Linked DNA regions of Homo sapiens: region 2 is linked to region 1. Evidence: promoter capture Hi-C in 16 types of primary human blood cells and fetal thymus (Javierre and others, 2016). All regions are on one chromosome and are shown on one strand. Each heading gives the region's core, a stretch centred on a gene start or on the middle of the fragment in contact. The rest is flanking DNA. Distances are from core to core; before and after follow the strand shown.

Evidence for each region. Contacts are between HindIII fragments. The CHiCAGO score rates a contact against its expected background, and 5 or more counts as called.
Region 2: a fragment that was not itself captured here is called in contact with the fragment with the promoter of MAPT in region 1 in 4 of 17 cell types (M1 macrophages, endothelial precursors, megakaryocytes and 1 more); the score reaches 6.6 in M1 macrophages.

Annotation. Positions count from the first base shown.
Region 1 is chr17:45,893,043-45,896,129 of GRCh38, reverse strand. MAPT (microtubule associated protein tau) reads right to left here and starts at 1,576. Exons shown (of 13, transcript NM_001377265.1): 1 at 1,444-1,576. It overlaps MAPT-AS1 (MAPT antisense RNA 1), which reads left to right and starts at 617. Exons shown (of 2, transcript NR_024559.1): 1 at 617-650. It overlaps MAPT-IT1 (MAPT intronic transcript 1), which reads right to left and starts at 347. Exons shown (of 1, transcript NR_024560.1): 1 at 1-347. RefSeq lists enhancers at 1-747, 748-1,633. The HindIII fragment of the contact is 3,093 bases long and covers 1-2,998 here.
Region 2 is chr17:45,628,846-45,631,932 of GRCh38, reverse strand. It overlaps LINC02210-CRHR1 (LINC02210-CRHR1 readthrough), which reads right to left. Exons shown (of 15, transcript NM_001256299.3): 3 at 1,775-2,029. LINC02210 (long intergenic non-protein coding RNA 2210) reads right to left here. Exons shown (of 6, transcript NR_138260.1): 3 at 1,775-2,029; 4 at 1,615-1,687; 5 at 1,327-1,444. Among named protein-coding and RNA genes, the nearest start is that of LINC02210-CRHR1, 10 kb to the right of the region's middle. The HindIII fragment of the contact is 1,886 bases long and covers 576-2,461 here.

The DNA.
Region 1 (3,087 bases), core at 327-2,826:
CAGCAAGCCTCGAGATCCAACAATGGGCTCGGAAATGAGGAGCGAAAAAGGAAAGAGAGGCGCATGGGCGTAGGGGGGAGGTTGACTGAACACCCTCAGAATAAAAGCCAGAAACCAGGGCTGGGAGCGCAGATCACGTAACCTCTACAGACAAAGCAAAGAGCCCCCGAAGAAGGTGCTGGGCGAACGCCCCCAGTGCTCACGCCCGCAGCAGCAAAACGCCAAGATTTCAGCGCTGATTGTCCCCCTCCCTTTAATGCCAGGCCCCGCCCTGTCCTATGAAGCCCGGCCACCCGGTTTGGCATGGCACCGTAAAGACGTGACACGCCGAAAAAAGATGGCACCTCGCGTTCCGAGGGGGAAAAAAAGGGGGGCTGGGGGCGGGAGTGGGAGGAGGCACAGCCTATCCTCCCCCTTCCTCGCCCACCAGGGTCCACACCCACTGCCGCAGTGAGGGGCGAGCCCTGCGCGCCAGCCCCGCGCCTCCGGCAGGGAGCGCACACGCCGGGCGCCCTGCGCTCCGAGCGCTGAGAAAGAAATCCGCCCCGAGATGCACCTGCAGCCCCGCGCCCATCCGTGCGTGGCTGCGGCTGTGCGTGCCCGCGAACGGGGACCAGCGGCCGCCGAGTCCGTCCACATCGCCAGGCCAGGTGAACCCTGCCTTTGCGAGCGTGCACAGTGGGATCCGCGCACTGTTCTCAGGCACGGCGCTGCTCGCGTCTCTGTGCCAGGCGTGCGCAGGGGGAAGGGCAACTAAAGTGACAGCGCGTGGACCCCTCCCCATCTCCTCGATTTCTCCCAGCCCCCAAATGTCCCCTACGGGTTTCTGAAGGAGGAAAAGGGGAGGGGGCCGGCCCCCGCCTAAAATCAGGGGCAGTGAAGGCCCTGTCGGAATCACTGCTCGGGAGGTGCAGGGAGGGGCGTGCAGGGAGTCATCTTTTCTAGAACCCGATCCACGTCTTTCTTAGAGCTGATGGCGAACAGCGGCAGGGACAGCGGATTTCAGATTCGGTTTCGGGGGTCGTTATCGGACCCCTCCACACACACACACACACACACACACACACACACACACACACACGCCCATTGCGGCAAAAGGCTGCAGTCGAGAGTGAAGGGCAGCCCCCTCCCCCAAGTCACCGCCGCCGCGCCCCACCCTGCCGGCACAGCCTCCACCTGGGGTCTGCGCGAATCTGGTGGTGAAGACCCTCCAGCACACACACACGCGCGCACTCACGCGTGCGTGCATCCCTTGCTCAGGTCCCTTTCCAGGCCGCCCTGGCCCCAGCCCCCGAGCAGGGGAGGCAGGGAGGGGCCCTGCGGTGGCCCCGACCGATGCCCGGCGCACGAAGCCCCAGTCTGCGGAGAGGGAGGGCGAGGGGCGGCGGCGCAGGGGTGCACAGAGGCGGACGGCGAGGCAGATTTCGGAGCCGCGGCGCTTACCTGATAGTCGACAGAGGCGAGGACGGGAGAGGACAGCGGAGGAGGAGAAGGTGGCTGTGGTGGCGGCGGCAGAAGGTGGGCGGTGGCAGCGGCGCTGCTGTTGGTGCCGGAGCTGGTGGGTGGCGGTGACTGCGAGGGCGCGCGCCGGCGAAGAGGGCGCGTTCCTGAGGCCGGCGGGCGGCGCAGGCGCGAGCAGCGGGAACGCGAGCCTCCCCAGGGGAGGGGGCGGGCAGCGCGGCCTCCGCGGGAGCCTTCTCCTCCGGCCACTAGTGGGCGCGCGCGAGCGCCCTGCCGCTCGGCCGTCCGGCGTCTCCCGGCTCGTTCCTCTCGGCGCTGCCCTTTCGCGGTCCCCCTCCCGCTACGCCTCAGGCCGCGGCGCTGACCGCAGCGCGCACGCGCGTTCCGTGGCGCACGCGCTTTCTCCACCTCCTGTAGTTGGAGTCTTTGTGTCGTTGCGGGGGTGGGTGTCCTCCTTCGGGCCATGCGGGGTCGGGGCAAGGCCAGTGGCTCCGCCGCTGGGTCCGCTGCCCTTTACTTTCAGTCAGCCTGGGGCGGTGTCCTCTCCTACAGAAGTCCTGAGCGGCCTTCCACGTGGCCGGCCCTCGAGTCCGTCCGCCCCGACCCTTCGTAGTCCCGAAACCGCCCCCCTGGCTAAGGTCTCTTTCCCCCAGGCTGCTTCCTTTCTCCTTGCTTTTTTCCCACCTTTTTTGTTACTGACCAAGGTGAATCCTTTCCTTAACAAATCGGCTTAAAGCAAGCTAACTCAGTTACAATACAGTAGAACTGTACTTAAAAAAAAAGAAACGTGAATCTAACCGTTACGTCAGAAAAAAAAATCTTAAATTAGACGAATTTCAAACAGTGCTTAACACATCGCAGAGCATTTGCAGTTATTTGTATCACGTCTTTTGAAACACCTTTATGCTGTAAATAGAGCTTGAAGTCTGAATGTTTAAGGGCCAGCTAGAGATTGTCCCCTGGAAGACGCACCTCAGCCTGAAACTGACCAGTGGTCCTCATTCTGCTGGTCGCCCAGGCCCCAGGCTTCGGCCTTAGCTTGGATTTTTCATTTCCCCAACATCAAGTTTAAGCCCAAGCAGTGGGATGATTTCTATGTAGGGGGGTTTAGGGCAGCCATCTCCTCCTAGGGAGATGGGAAGTTGTCTTGAAGCTCCAATTTGCATAGCTCTTATATTCTTTTTAAAAAATCAACATATGTTATAGATTAATAGAAAAAGCAAGTAAAATGCTTTATTCACACAGTTTCTGGAACTGACCTTTTTCTCCTTTTTTTTTTTAAATGCATATTAACTTTATTTTTAAACAGAGGGGCATATACCCAAAGAAGTAGGAGTGAGAACCACCATGGGGGCTTGCTCAAAGCAATCTGCCCTAGCCTTCTGACTACAGAATGTCTCATGAGCCAATGGCCTGGAGATGGAGCTGCCCCTTGATGGTGTACACCTTAGAAAAGTCAGTGGAATTGACCTTTTTTTGGAGACAAGGTCTTGCTCAGGCTGGAGTGCAGTGGCACAATCGTAGCTCACGGCAAGCTTGAACTCCTGGGGCTCAAGCAATCTTCCCACCTCAGCCTTCTGAGTTGCTGGGACTACAGGTGGGCACCACCACACCTGGCTAACTTTT
Region 2 (3,087 bases), core at 269-2,768, 260 kb after region 1:
CTGGCTCTGTCCGCCAGGCTGGAGTGCAGTGGCGCGATCTTGGCTCACTGCAAGCTCCGCCTCTCGGGTTTGCACCATTCTCCTGCCTCAGCCTCCCGAGCAGCTGGGACTACAGGCGCCCGCTACCGTACCCGGCTAATTTTTTGTATTTTCAGTAGAGACAAGGTTTCACCATGTTAGCCAGGATGGTTTCGATCTCCTGACCTTGTGATCCGCCCGCCTCGGCCTCCCAAAGTGCTGGGATTACAGGCGTGAGCCACCGCGCCCGATCAGCAGTATCTTTGTTATCATAGCGGGCCCACACCTCTAAGTTGATGCTAACAAGGTGACTCAGAGTGGGCCCCTAGATAGTGGATGCTAACAAGATCACCTCTGGGGAAATGAGGGTGCTAAAGTTTGAGTCACATGGCCAATGATTCAATCAATCGTACCTATGCAAGGAAGCCCCAATAAAAATGACAAATACTGAAGCTCAGGAGCACGTCCCTGGTTGGCAATACTCTATACATTGTCACGCATCGATGTGCTGGAAAGGTAACAGCCCCTGACTCCACGGGGAGAGAACAATGAAAGCTTTGCGTTTGGTGTCCTCCCAGATCTATGTGTCTTTCCCTTTGACTGGTTCATTTATATCCTTTTGCTTTATTGATCAATTAATAAAACTGTAGTTGTAAGCATAGCATGTCCCTGAATTCTGTGAATCATTCTGACAAGTGATCAAACCTGAGGGGGTAGTGGAAATCGCCAAATTTGTAGCCATCTGGCCAGAAGTGAGGGTGGGCTGAGGACCCCCAAACCTGTTGCCAGCTGGTGGCTGAAGTTGGGGATTCTTGTGGAGGATGGTGCCCTCAACCTGTGAAATAAAGTCCAACTCCAGGGGGTTGGTGCCGGAAGTCTCTGCAGCATTCCATACTATAGCATCAAATACATCCCAAAAAGTAAAAGATACCTGGGGCAGGCCAAAGAAAGGCACCACCCCATCACACCTGAGTGAAGGTGACCAAAACCTGCACAGACCCAGTCACTGCTACATTGGCTGGAGGAAGCTGTGGGGCCAAAAGCATCTCCAGGGAGGGGCACAGGTGGCATCCAACACACCCTCCAAGCACAAGAAGGGGAGACGCCTTTGGCAGTAGTTCATGTGACATTAATGATAACAACAATCTGTCAGCCAGGTGTGGTGGCTCAGGCCTGTAATCCCAGCACTTCAGGAAGCCAAGGTGGGCAGATGACTTGAGGTCAGGGGTTCGAAACCAGCCAGGCCAACTTGGCAAAACCCCATCTCTACTAAAAATACAAAAATTAGCCAGGCGTGGTGACGCGTACCTGTGATCCCAGCTACTGGGGGGGCTGAGGTAAAAGAATTGCTTGAACCCGGGAGGCAGCAGTTGCAGTGAGCTGAGATGGTGCCACTGCACTCCAGCTTAGGTGACAGAGTGAGAACCTGTCTCGGAAAAAACAAAAAACAAAACAAAACAAAATTTGTGTTTGGCTAAGAGTAAGCCCTTAACACAAAAATGTGAAGTGGCTGCCAAAAGAACAGTTTGATCCTAGGCTGCATCACCAGTAGTGACGGGGTCTCAGTTCCTAGGACATGGGTGATACCAGGCTTACTCTACATCAGTCAGAACATCCTGGGAACGTTATATGGGCAGTGCTGGATCCCACACTCTGAGACCGGGGCAAACTGAAAAAATTCAAAAAATGATCAGGAGAGCAAAGGCATTAGACACTAGGCCATATGAAGAACAGCTGCTATAATTGGAGATTTTACCTGGAGAAAAGAGTCACGTAGCGGCTGATGGCTATCTTCAAGTAGCTGAAAGTCTATGATGTAAAGAGGATTTAAGCGTTTTATAGAGCTCTGTGAGGTGGACTGAAGATCAGTGGTGAAAACTACAGAAGTCAGCCTAGCAGAGTGTCAGCAGATGAAGATGCAATGGCTGCCTCAGAAGGCACTCCTGTCACTGGAGATACTTGTTTGTGCACAACTTCAGCCACAATTCATGGGGACCCTGCAGAAGAGACCCTGGAAGGAAAATAGTAGCAGGATAAGATGACTTCTTGGTTTCCTTTGACCATGAGATTTCACGACTATGTCTAGGAGAGTAAACCAGTGCCGGCCCTCTTCCCTTTCCCTCCGTGCCTCCCAGGCCCACTCAACAGCTGCCTGAACCAACGGCAACAGAGCAGCCTACTATGGCTGATAGAGAGCTCCCGCAGCTTCGGCATGTTTGGGGCTTGCATGTGAGTCAATGTCATGTCTGCTACATCATATCAGATTAAAAAATGAAAAACATTCAAAACTCCCCCGAAGATTTCATATGCTATCAGCAAGTTCTGGTCTCTCGTCGTAACTAAGCAAGCCAGATTATCCAGAAATTTGAGATCCTTAGTCACCAATGCAGAACTGACAGGGAGGAAGCTGCCATATTATCCCTTTGCCATTCCTAAAAAAGCTTTGTAATATTAGGTACCATTTTATACTATCTTTATATAGGTCCTTACCTAAGAACCTAACATCAGACTGGTCCTACATCTGAACTAAGAGAACCTACAAAAAGCATATTTACAGCCGGGCGCAGTGGCTCATGCCTGTAATCCCAGCACTTTGGGAGGCCGAGGCGGGTGGATCACCTGAGGTCGGGAGTTCAAGACCAGCCTGACCAACATGGAGAAACCCCATCTCTACTAAAAATACAAAATTAGCTGGGCGTGGTGGCACACGCCTGTAATCCCAGCTACTCGGGAGGCTGAAGCAGGAGAATCGCTTGAACCTGGGAGGCAGAGGTTGCAGTGAGCCGAGATCGCACCATTGCACTCCAGCCTGGGCAACAAGAGTGAAACTCCATCTCAAAAAAAAAAAAGTATATTTACACATGAATAGTATACTACTAATGTGTTTTTTAATGGGAATATATGTATATAGAGCTGCCAGTATATACATAAAATATGTCTGGACAGATATATAAGAAATAAAAATGTTTGTCAGCCAGGCATGGTGGCTCATGCCTATAATCCCAGAACTTTGGGAGGCCGAAGTGGGCAAATCACCTGAGGTCAGGAGTTTGAGACCAGCCTGGCCAA